Linked DNA regions of Homo sapiens: region 2 is linked to region 1. The links are contacts of gene promoters, found by promoter capture Hi-C in blood cells and fetal thymus (Javierre and others, 2016). All regions are on one chromosome and are shown on one strand. Each heading gives the region's core, a stretch centred on a gene start or on the middle of the fragment in contact. The rest is flanking DNA. Distances are from core to core; before and after follow the strand shown.

Region 1 (5,677 bases), core at 1,862-4,361:
TTGTTCTGGGGCCAGGCACAGTGGCTCACACCTGTAATCCCAGCACTTTGGGAGGCCAAGGCAGGAGGATTGCTTGAGGCCAGGAGTTTTAGATCAGCCTGGGCAACATAACAAGGCCCTGTCTCTATGTATTTTATTTATAAAAAATTTTAAAAAACAACTTGTTCTGGTACCTAAAAAGCAAGTTCCTCTGCATTCATGAGTGCATCGGTTTCTTTTTCAGTAACCGACACTAAAGAGCAAAGGTAACTAGGAAAAATCTCTCTGGAGTTGTTAGAATTACCTGCATTCTGTGAATGTTGCTTATAAAAAACTAAAATGGAATTTTAATTCATAAGGCAATAAAATCTTAAAAATATACCAGATACCTGCAATAATAGTATTTTTAGATATCAATCTAATAAAGAAAGTAAGAAACCAACATTCAAACACTGACTATATATAAAGAACATTCATATGTTCTCTGATTTAATTCTTTCAACAATCCAAAGAGATTGATAATATCTTTTCCCCTCAACAGAGCAGCAAACAGAGGTTCAGAAAACAAGAATTCATTTAAGGTTATACAATTAATAAGGAAAAGAACTGAAATCTGTGGGCATTTTTATATTTTCCACTACTCCTTGCTTCAAAAGGATGGAAAAGAAAGAGGAAAGAGGAATGGACGGAAGGAAAGGAAAAGAACATTCTACAGCCAGATCTGGTAGTGACTCCATTAGCACTAAGATCCCCTAGACTGAAAATCAGATTAAACATAAAATCAGTCCTGAACTTGCCTTACCACCGAAGACTTCTTTTTGCGAAGCCATTTGCTGTACCACATTATTATTTTTAAACTTCTATTGAACAAAAAACAAAACAAAACCTCTCCCAGTTCTATCACTAGGATGTAATAACATGTGCACACAGGTGTGTGTGTTCCTTAAAATCCATAAGGAAAACTTGAAAGCAGCCAGAGCTGACCTCACACAGGTGGCATCTGTGTTGGACAGTAATAACCAAAAGAGTCTTGCTCGGCCCTTAATAACCCACGCAAAGAATCACTAAAAGTTACTAAAATACAGCCACTGGAAAACGACGAATGAACAAAGTGGTTAATGTTCCTTCCCAAAATTATAGCAAGGAAAACTCCACCACCTAATGAAAATCATTAAGAGAATTCAGAGGAGTTAACTGCAGGCAGGCGTGACTTCTCCCCCAGAAAGTAATCAGCTAATAAGCATTAATCATCTTGTGCACAGTCTGCGCATTTATAATAGGGTTTAATAAAGCCTTCAACAACAGGCCCAGAATTAATGAACGGCATCTTAGGTCTAACACAAAAGTATTCCTTAGCGGACGAAAATTAGCGCTTCTACTTCACATTTGCTGTCGTGTCCCCCATATATACGGGCTCGTATTCACTATCCCTGGAGGCTTTATCACGCGTGGTTTTTTTTAGCTTTTGTTCCTGAAAGCAGTTAACCTTCATCGATAACCTACCGTGTGCCGGGTGATCTCCAAACATCCCACTAGTTTTTTCTTTTTTTAGTTTCCCATGGGTAGTGGCAAAATTTTGAAGGCAATGCAACCAGGAAGATGGGAGCGAATATTTTCTCACGCCAACAGGGAGGCCAGTTTCCGGGAGAGGAACTCGGCGGCGTCTGGAGCTACCCAGGAAGAGCTTGCAGCCCCCAAGGGCAGCGCGTGCAGGCCAAGGGGGTCGGGTAGGGTTGAGCGGGTACTCACCGGGCAGAAGCGCGGCCCAAGTCCTCCTTACTTCTGCGTGTCAATCCCCCTTCCCCAATTTGCATCCTTACTGCAATCCAGTCTCCCCCGTACAACCGTCACGGATCTGCGCTCCGAGCACCGCCCCCCCCCGCAACCAGCCACCAACCCCCGGCAGGGACCACAGGCACACGCCTCCGTCGGAAAAGTTGGGCAGACACTTCAGAACTTTTCTTTCACTTTGGGGAGAAGGAGGGAGTTGGAGAAGTGGGGGCGAGGGGTGTTAAAGCACTGGGCCATTCTCTGCAACATCTCCCCGCGCCCCCCAACAAGTTGCCCCTCCTCGTGCACACAGCGAGGTGACAGCGCAGGGCACCAAACTGCTGAGGGAAGGAGATGCCTGCAGCCATCTCAGCGGGGCTGGCGGACGCGACCCGACAGTCACCGGAAAAACAGTGGTGTCGGTCTTCCCCATCACCTCCCCTCCCCATCCCACAATAAAGCGCACGGAAGATGTCTGGGAGTACCTGGCCCTGCCACAGGAGCTGGGGAGGAGAGCGATCTCACCCCCTCCATCCCTCCCGGCAGGTGGGCCGCGGTCAGATACGTTTGGCCCGCAAGTCCTTTTCGGACACGTTGGCATCTGCTCCCAAAGAGCGCCCCAGCAGGACCCGGTCACCGGGGTCTTCCAGAGGGGCGGTAGCCACCGCACAGGAGCCAGCGGCATCCCCCAAGGAGCCGCAAGCCCTACCTGGCTTAACCCCCGGACATGTGTGTCGCTACCGATCGAAGAACCCAAACACCCCGAGATTTCCCTCCTCTAGGCAGGTGAAAACCCCACGGAACTCTCCGCAGCGCTGCCTGCCCAGCCGGCCGTGTCTCGCCGTCCCCGAGGCCTCGGGGGCTCCCAGCACCTCCACCCAAATCCCACCTGTGCGGGCTCGGGAGTCCGAGGGCGCTGACAGCTGCTGCCGCCGCATCCCGGATCTCCAAAGTGCGGCGGGAGCGGCCAGGGAACCTGCAGGACACCGCCGGGCCAAGGGGCTTGGGAAGGTCTGGGGGCCCCCGGCGCCGCACCCCTGCTTACCTGGCGTTCGCTGGGCCCCGGCTGGGGCATCCGCCTGGTGCGCGCCGCTCGGAGCGCTCGCTGCGCACCTGGCCGCTGCCGCCGCCCGCCCGGCCCCAGCCCTGGCCGCCGCGCTAGCGCTGCATGGCGCACGGGGGCTGGCCGGGGGCCCGGGGAAGCGTGTCTAGTTGGCGGCGGCACCTCCGGCTCTCGCGGCTCGCTAGTGGCTCCCCCGCCTTTCCCCGCCCCGCGTCCGTGCACCCTTCCTCTGCAGCCGCCCTTTTGCCTCCGCTCCGCCGGACCGGCCAAACTGGTTTCTCCGCTCGGGGAGGTGCCTCTGGTTTCCCTCCAGCAGCCGCGGCCGCCGAGCCTCGCTGGGGCTGGGGCTGGGGCTGGAGGCGGGCTCGGCCTTCTCCCCTCCCTTTTTCCCTCCCTAGGGCGGAGAGGGGCTGGACTGCAAGCCCCGGGGCGGCCCGAGGCGGCCCAGGTCCAGCTCCTGCCCCACGCCCTCCGTGCGTCCTGGAGTCAGGTGGGCACCCCTTTCAGTCTTCCGAGCCCAGCCTACGAGCCCTTGCCTCGCCCAGCCTGAGACCCAGTTGCTGCGGCTGCTCTTAGCTCCCCGGGGGCCGCACTCGCCACCACACCTCTCCAGCCCAGCGTCACTTTCCCGCTGCCCTTGGCTGGCTTGGCCGTCACCCCGGGTCGAGGACTGAGCCAGCCTGGAAAGCTGGCGGGGCCGCGGCGCGCCCGGGACCTGAGCTCCCTCGGTAAGGGGAGCTGTGTCCTCTTGATGCCAAGTCATGTTTGGGGACCGGTCACCGAATGCGCGTCAAAGTTCGCCGCGTGGAGGGTGAAGAAAGAGGCTGCGCCTCAAGACTTCCAGAAACGTATCCTGTGATTGCAGCCAGCAGGCTTTCTGCCGAGTCCAAACGCTATCGAGTTTTTTTGGGTTTGGAGTCAAAAGGAGTTAAGGTGCGGCCCGTGAACCACGCGGTGTAGGTGGAAATTTTGGACTCAGCGCCTCGTTGCTGGCTGGTGTCTGAGCGGGTGAATCGTGCCTCCCTGGCAGTATAGACATTACCCTCCTTCTTGAGTAGACTTTTGCCGCTCCCCGACTATGGACCGAGTCGTTGGGATAAGAATGGAGGAAAATCAAAGATCAGAGTTTGCTTAAAATGCAGTAGGGGAGCCAGGACTCCCACACGATTCCCAGTCACCTAGAGGCTCACATCTATGCCCAAGAGTCCAGACTCCCAACTGGGTCATCACAGAGGCTTCCTACAGGAGGCCGTGCTTGATGGGACTCAAAGATCCACAGCTTTAAGGATCAGAGTTGTGTAGAGAGGGTATTCAACGGGTGGCCAACTGGTAGAATCTTGTCTGATACCAACCCCGAGGCTGCTCTAGGCTTCTTTTTCATGAGTCAAACTTGATCTCTGACTAGGTGCTGGTCAGTCACTCAATCTATCCAGGCCTCAGTTTCCTCATTTGTAAAATGAGATTGGACCAGATGGTCTCTTCCAGCACTTATATTCTGAAGCTAACGACAGAACAAAGGTACCGATGCAAGAGAACATAGGGCCTGTTGGTGACACTGGTTGATCTAAGACATTTAGACTTGTTTTTGGTAGCACCTGCAAACCGTTGACAATTTAGGACCGAGCATGAGCATGATCAAGGTTGTGTTTTAGGGAAAATAATAGGGAGATAGTCTAGAGAGGATAAAACTGAAGATGGGAGAATCACTTGAGAGGCTGGGACAGCGACATACGGAGGAGTTGCCAGGGGAAGTAAAAAGGAGGAAATTCAAGGGACACCACAGAAGAGAGATAGGGCACGAAGTGGCCACAACCTGCAACTGACTGGGAGAGGGGAGCAATGGAAGGTGAGCCAGGTTCTCAAGACTGGGTTATGGCATGCAAGGAGCAGCAGACTCCAAAGGAGGGAAGCCGTTTAGGAAGACTCTGCCCCTATCTGGATAAATGCCAGCAAACCTAGGAATCAAGAGGGGATTCCAGACTAAAGGGGGCACCCCCTCCTTGCAGATCCACTACCAAGTGCTCAACCTGTCCAAGAAAATGTTACATAGAAGAGACTAAACAAGGACGCATCCAATCTACACCTGTACCTAGATCTGATCAATACCATTCTGATGTCTGCATTTATTTACTTGTTTATTTATTTATAGAGACAGGGTTGGGTTTCACTATGTTGCCCAGGCTTGTCTTGAACTCCCCAGTTCAAGCGGTCCACCTGCCTCAGCCCCCCAAGGTGCTGGGATTACAGTCATGAGCCACCACCTGTACTAAAAATACAAAAATTAGCCAAGCATGGTGGCGGGCGCCTGTGGTCCCAGCTACTCAAGAGGCTGAAGCAGGAGAATCAATTGAACCTGGGAGACTGAGGTGGCAGGCAGTGAGCCGAGACTGTGCCACTGCGCTTCAGCCTGGGCAACAGAGCGAGGCTCTGTCTCAAAATAAAATAATATTCTTTCATTCAACAAAGATTTGAGTGTGAGTGCCTACTGTGTGTCAGGCAGTTTTCTAGTTGCTTGGGTACATCTATGAGCCAATCAAATATCTTTTTTTTTTTTTTTTTTTAGACAGAGGCTCGCTCTGTTGCACAGGCTGGAGTGCAGTGGTGTGATCTCGGCTCACTGCAACCTCCACCTCCTGGGTTCCAGCAATTCTCCTGCCGCAGCCTCCCGAGTAGCTGGGGTTACAGGCACAGCCACCAGGCCAGGCTAATTTTTGTATTTTTAGTAGAGACAGGTTTCACCATGTTGGTCAGGCTGGTCGTGAACTCGTGACCTCATGATCCACCCACCTCAGCCTCCCAAAGTGCTGGGATTATAGGCGTGAGCCACTGCACTCGGCAAGTATCTTAAAAGGTGGCAAATGCTTT
Region 2 (5,677 bases), core at 1,918-4,417, 170 kb before region 1:
GGAGGTCGAGGCTGCACTGAGCTGTGATCACGCCACTGCACTCCAGCCTGAGGCTACGGAGAGAGACCCTGTCTCTAATTAATAAATAAATTATAGATAGATGATAGATAGATGCAATAAAAAATAAAATTGGCTTGTAAACGGCAAACTAAAAGTGGAAATTATCATTACAATGAAAATATTAATTTGAGGAACCGAAAACTTAACTTTCCTTTTCCTGTAGTTAAGTTTAAGCACTTAGATTTGCTTCAGTGATTCCCAGGCTTCATGATTGCAAGCTGCTTGCTTGTAAGCACCTTGTCTCTCACTAAAAAAAATTACAGTTATTTTAAAGTCCCGCTGGATGCTCATTCTTTAAGGAGGGTGAACAATGGTAACTCCTGTACCGTTAGAGCTCTGAATGAAGCCAGATACGTTCCATAGATCACAGAACTCATTTTCTGGCTTGGTGAGCCTGGTCAAGTTTCTTAACCTTTCTGAGCCACAGATGTTTCAATTATAAAGTGATAATAACCCTTCACTGGGAAGGTTATTGTGAGGATAATATGAGATCAGCTATACCAAAATATGCCTAACATGTACTTGACATCCAGTAAGCTTTCTGAATTAGGATATAAATGGCATTAATGGTTAATCATTGTTATTCTTTTGTTCCATGATATGCATGAATAACAACTTGAAGCCTTCAAACTGCTGAGAGCTGCTTGGTGGACCTCGTCTCTCAATTTGCCCTTCCCACTAAACCTGTCTTCCCCCAACAGTGGGCTTTCTGGTCAGCATTTCAGAATGTCTCAAACCGTAGGTCCTTCCCACAGCCCCAAATCTCAGCAAATGACCAGTCTCTTGCTTCAAGCTATTAAATGGATGCTGTCTGACAGCCCTCCCTTGAAACCTGCAAACTCTCGTGCTTTGGCATCCATCCTTTCCCTCTAGTGCAATGCAAGTCACATCCTCCCTCTGGCTAACCTCTCCACCCATCTTCTGGATTCCCCACACCTCTCCAATCTAATCTTCACACTCCAGCCAGGGCGAACACTTACAAATATAAACACAGTCATTTCATTCTCTATCTAGCAACTTTCCATGGACTTCCTTTTGCTCTCAGGGTTCACCTCAACATCCTTACAGGCTTTCCAGGCTGTGTATGCTCTGGCTTACCACTGCTTCTTATTTTTTTTTTTATTATTTATTTATTTATTTATTTATTGATTGATCATTCTTGGGTGTTTCTCGCAGAGGGGGATTTGGCAGGGTCACAGGACAATAGTGGAGGGAAGGTCAGCAGATAAACAAGTGAACAAAGGTCTCTGGTTTTCCTAGGCAGAGGACCCTGCGGCCTTCCGCAGTGTTTGTGTCCCTGGGTACTTGAGATTAGGGAGTGGTGATGACTCTTAACGAGCATGCTGCCTTCAAGCGTCTGTTTAACAAAGCACATCTTGCACCGCCCTTAATCCATTTAACCCTGAGTGGACACAGCACATGTTTCAGGAGAGCACAGGGTTGGGGGTAAGGTCACAGATCAACAGGATCCCAAGGCAGAAGAATTTTTCTTAGTACAGAACAAAATGAAAAGTCTCCCATGTCTACCTCTTTCTACACAGACACGGCAACCATCCGATTTCTCAATCTTTTCCCCACCTTTCCCCCCTTTCTATTCCACAAAACCGCCATTGTCATCATGGCCCGTTCTCAATGAGCTGTTGGGTACACCTCCCAGACGGGGTGGTGGCCGGGCAGAGGGGCTCCTCACTTCCCATAGGGGCGGCCGGGCAGAGGCGCCCCTCACCTCCCAGACAGGGCGGCTGGCCGGGCGGAGGGCTGACCCCCCCACCTCCCTCCCGGACGGGGCGGCTGGCCGGGCAGAGGGGCTCCTCACTTCCCAGTAGGGGCGGCTGGGCAGAGGCGCCCCTCACCTCCCGGACGGGGTGGCTGGCCGGGCAGGGGGCTGACCCCCCCACCTCTCTCCCGGACGGGGCGGCTGGCCGGGCGGGGGGCTGACCCCCCCACCTCCCTCCCGGACGGGGCGGCTGGCCGGGCAGAGGAGCTCCTCACTTTCCAGTAGGGGCGGCCGGGCAGAGGCGCCCCTCACCTCCCGGATGGGGTGGCTGGCCGGGCAGGGGGCTGACCCCCCCACCTCCCTCCTGGACGGGGTGGCTGCCGGGCGGAGACGCTCCTCACTTCCCAGACGGGGTGGCTGCCGGGCGGAGGGGCTCCTCACTTCCCAGACGGGGTGGCTGCCCGGCGGAGGGGCTCCTCACTTCTCAGACGGGGCAGCTGCTGGGCAGAGGGGCTCCTCACTTCTCAGACAGGGCGGTTGCCAGGCAGAGGGTCTCCTCACTTCTCAGACGGGGCGGCCGGGCAGAGATGCTCCTCACATCCCGGACGGGGCGACAGGGCAGAGGCGCTCCCCACATCTCAGACGATGGGCGGCCGGGCAGAGACGCTCCTCACTTCCTAGATGGGATGGCAGCCGGGCAGAGACGCTCCTCACTTTCCAGACTGGGCAGCCAGGCAGAGGGGCTCCTCACATCCCAGACGATGGGCGGCCAGGCAGAGACGCTCCTCGCTTCCCAGACGGGGTGGCGGCCGGGCAGAGGCTGCAATCTCGGCACTTTGGGAGGCCAAGGCAGGCTGCTGGGAGGTGGAGGTTGTAGCGAGCCGAGATCACGCCACTGCACTCCAGCCTGGGCACCATTGAGCACTGAGTGAAGGAGACTCCGTCTGCAATCCCGGCACCTCGGGAGGCCGAGGCTGGCGGATCACTCGCGGTCAGGAGCTGGAGACCAGCCCGGCCAACACAGCGAAACCCCGTCTCCACCCAAAAAATACGAAAACCAGTCAGGCGTGGCGGCGCGCGCCTGCAATTGCAGGCACTCGGCAGGCTGAGGCAGGAGAATCAGGCAGGGAGGTTGCAGTGAGCCGAGATAGCAGCAGTACAGTCCAGCTTCGGCTCGGCATCAGAGGGAGACCGTGGAAAGAGGGGAGAGGGAGAGAGAGGGAGAGGGAGAGGGAGAGCTGCTTCTTATTTTTATTTATTTTATTTATTTATTATTATTATTTTTTTGAGACGGAGTTTTGCTCTTGTTGCCCAGGCTGGAGTGCAATGGAGCGATCTCAGCTCACCGCAACCTCCGCCTCCTAGCTTCAAGTGATTCTCCTGCCTCAGTCTCCCAAGTAGCTGGGACTACAGGCATGCGCCACCGTGCCCAGCTTATTTTGTATTTTTAGTAGAGACGGGGCTTCTCCATGTTGGTCAGGCTGGTCTTGAACTCTCGACCTCAGGTGATCTGCCTGCCTCGGCTTCCCAAAGTGCTGGGATTACAGGCGTGAACCACCACGCCCGACTATTTTTTATTTGTTCTTTTGAGACAGGGGTGATCCTCCCACCTCAGCCTCAAAAGTAGCTGGGACTTCAGGCACACACCATCACACCTGGCTAATTTTTTTTTTTTTTTTTTTTTGTAGAGACGGGGTTTGGGGGTTTTGCCTTGTTGCCCAGGTTGGTCTCGAACTCCTGGGCTCAAGGGATATGCCCACCTTAACCTCTCAAAGTGTTAGGATTACAGGTGTGAGCCACTGCGCCCAGCCCTATTGCTTTTTAAAGGTACAATTAACTTTAGCCCAGGCTAGCTTTTTCACTGAATTGATCTGGGTACGATGTGGGGTTTGGGATAGCTGTTCAGAAAGGTGAAGACAGAGTCAAAGAGAGAAAAACATTTTCTCTATAGAGGTGGGGAAACTTTCAGAGAGAATTAATTGTGTCCTCTAAAAGCAATGAAGTCCGCTTGGTTAGTTTGAAGAACGATCATGTATCAGTTTATAGGAATTGAGACTTTTTTTTTTTTTTTTGAGATGAAGTCTTTCTCTGTCCCCCAGGCTGGGGTGCAATGGCATGATCTCAGCTCACTGCACCCTCCACCTCCCAGGTTCAAGCAATTCTCCTGTCTCAGCCTCCCAAGTACCTGGGATTACAGGCGCCTGCCACCACGTCTGGCTAATTTTTGTATTTTTAGTAGAGATGGGGTTTCACCATGTTGGACAGGCTGGTCTTGAACTCCTGACCTCAAGTGATCCGCCTGCATTGGTCCCACAAAGTGCTGGGGTTACAGGCGTGAGCCACCATGCCCGGCCGGAGTTGAGGCTCCAAGGGGTCTCGGGGGGTCTCAGAAGCTCAGCTGATGATATCTTAATCAGGTTTGGGTTTTTTTTTTTTTCTGTTAGAACAGGTCATAAAAATACTTTCACCCCAAGCCACAAAATCCTATAAAATAGCTCAGTCTTTGACAAATACAGTGAATATAAAAGAGCTCTTTTGAGTTTCTATTTACTCAAGATGTTTGCAGTGATAAAATCTTGATATAAGTTTTCTAGAATCTTGAACTTTCAAAGCTCCTTTAGAAACAGTCCTTTGTGTTGTTTTTATTAAACTCTTCAATGAACACAAAGTTTTTATGTTGTTCACACAAAATTTAAATAAGGAAGCTGAAGGTAGGTGGGAACCCCCAAATGGATGGTAATAGAAAACCTCCTATAGCATTTCCATAGACTGGTTTATTCATTATGCAGCTTGGCTCAGCAGAACCATTTTATAATGAAACTGCAAGATGACTCCCAGTGGGCAAATCAACCTCTATTCTAAAGGTTGATTCTTGTCAACTGGGAGAATTGATTCCTGATGAGAAATGCTAGACTAAAAAACCCTCCCACATTCACTTCACAAGCCAGATCCAATATCTTTAATCCTCTTATGGAAAAGAAACAAGGAGACATTTCAGGGCTTACAACAGCCTTCCAGAATAATTGCAACAGTCTCACAGCATCAGGGGCCAAAGGAATATTGACATCTTTCCAACTGGAAATCCTAAACCGGTTATCTGGAGTGAGACAATCTATGTCTTAAACTTGGCCAGAGCACCTTGGATTTTTTTTTTTTTTTTTTTTTTTTTTTTTTTTTTGACGGAGTCTTGCTCTGTCCCCCAGGCTGGAGGGCAGTGATGTGATTTTGGCTCACTGCAACCTCCGCCTCCTGGGTTCAAGCGATTCTCCTGCCTCAGCCTCCCCGTAGCTGGGACTACAGGCATGCGCCACCATGCCTGGGTAATATTTTTGTACTTTTAGTAGAGACAGGGTTTCACCATGTTGATCAGGCTGGTCTCCAACTCCTGACCTCAAATGATCCACCCACCTCAGCCTCTCAGCGTGCTGGGATTACAGGCGTGAGCCACCGCGCCAGGCCAGCACCTTGGATTTTAACCACCATCCTAGATCAGGAAGTTTAAATTTCTCTCCATGTTAAAATTTTCCTTTCTCATATTGTTAATACATTACTATTTGATTAATACAAATTACTATTTGTTAATACAAATACATGCTATTTGATTCAGGTTTTGAAGCAAAATTCCTGATAATTTTAAAACTATGAGAGTTATTTCTTTCTATGCATCTTATTGCTGAGGTCATCTTAGCTGATCATTAATTGGACAATATAGTGGTAAATCCATACTGGTCTTTGACTCTGAAAACATTCTTTCAAATTCCATTGGTGCTTTCCACTGTTTTGACACGACTTTAAGATGTTATCCAGACTCTTCTGAGCGCAAAGAATATGTGTCTGCATATAAATGGCCTAACAAAACACACCACTCTGTCTATAGCCATGAACAGGAAGTCCCCATCT

The links. Contacts are between HindIII fragments. The CHiCAGO score rates a contact against its expected background, and 5 or more counts as called.
Region 2: a contact is called between a fragment that was not itself captured here and the fragment with the promoter of ATP8B1 in region 1, in 4 of 17 cell types (M0 macrophages, endothelial precursors, M2 macrophages and 1 more). The highest score is 7.7, in M0 macrophages.

What each region holds. Positions count from the first base shown.
Region 1 is chr18:57,800,204-57,805,880 of GRCh38, forward strand. It overlaps ATP8B1 (ATPase phospholipid transporting 8B1), which reads right to left and starts at 3,112. Exons shown (of 28, transcript NM_001374385.1): 1 at 2,795-3,112. RefSeq lists an enhancer at 2,732-3,369. The HindIII fragment of the contact is 11,863 bases long and covers 1-5,677 here.
Region 2 is chr18:57,630,889-57,636,565 of GRCh38, forward strand. All of the region lies in intron 1 of ATP8B1-AS1 (ATP8B1 antisense RNA 1), which reads left to right. Among named protein-coding and RNA genes, the nearest start is that of ATP8B1-AS1, 3.4 kb to the left of the region's middle. RefSeq lists an enhancer at 1,982-2,830. The HindIII fragment of the contact is 5,144 bases long and covers 596-5,677 here.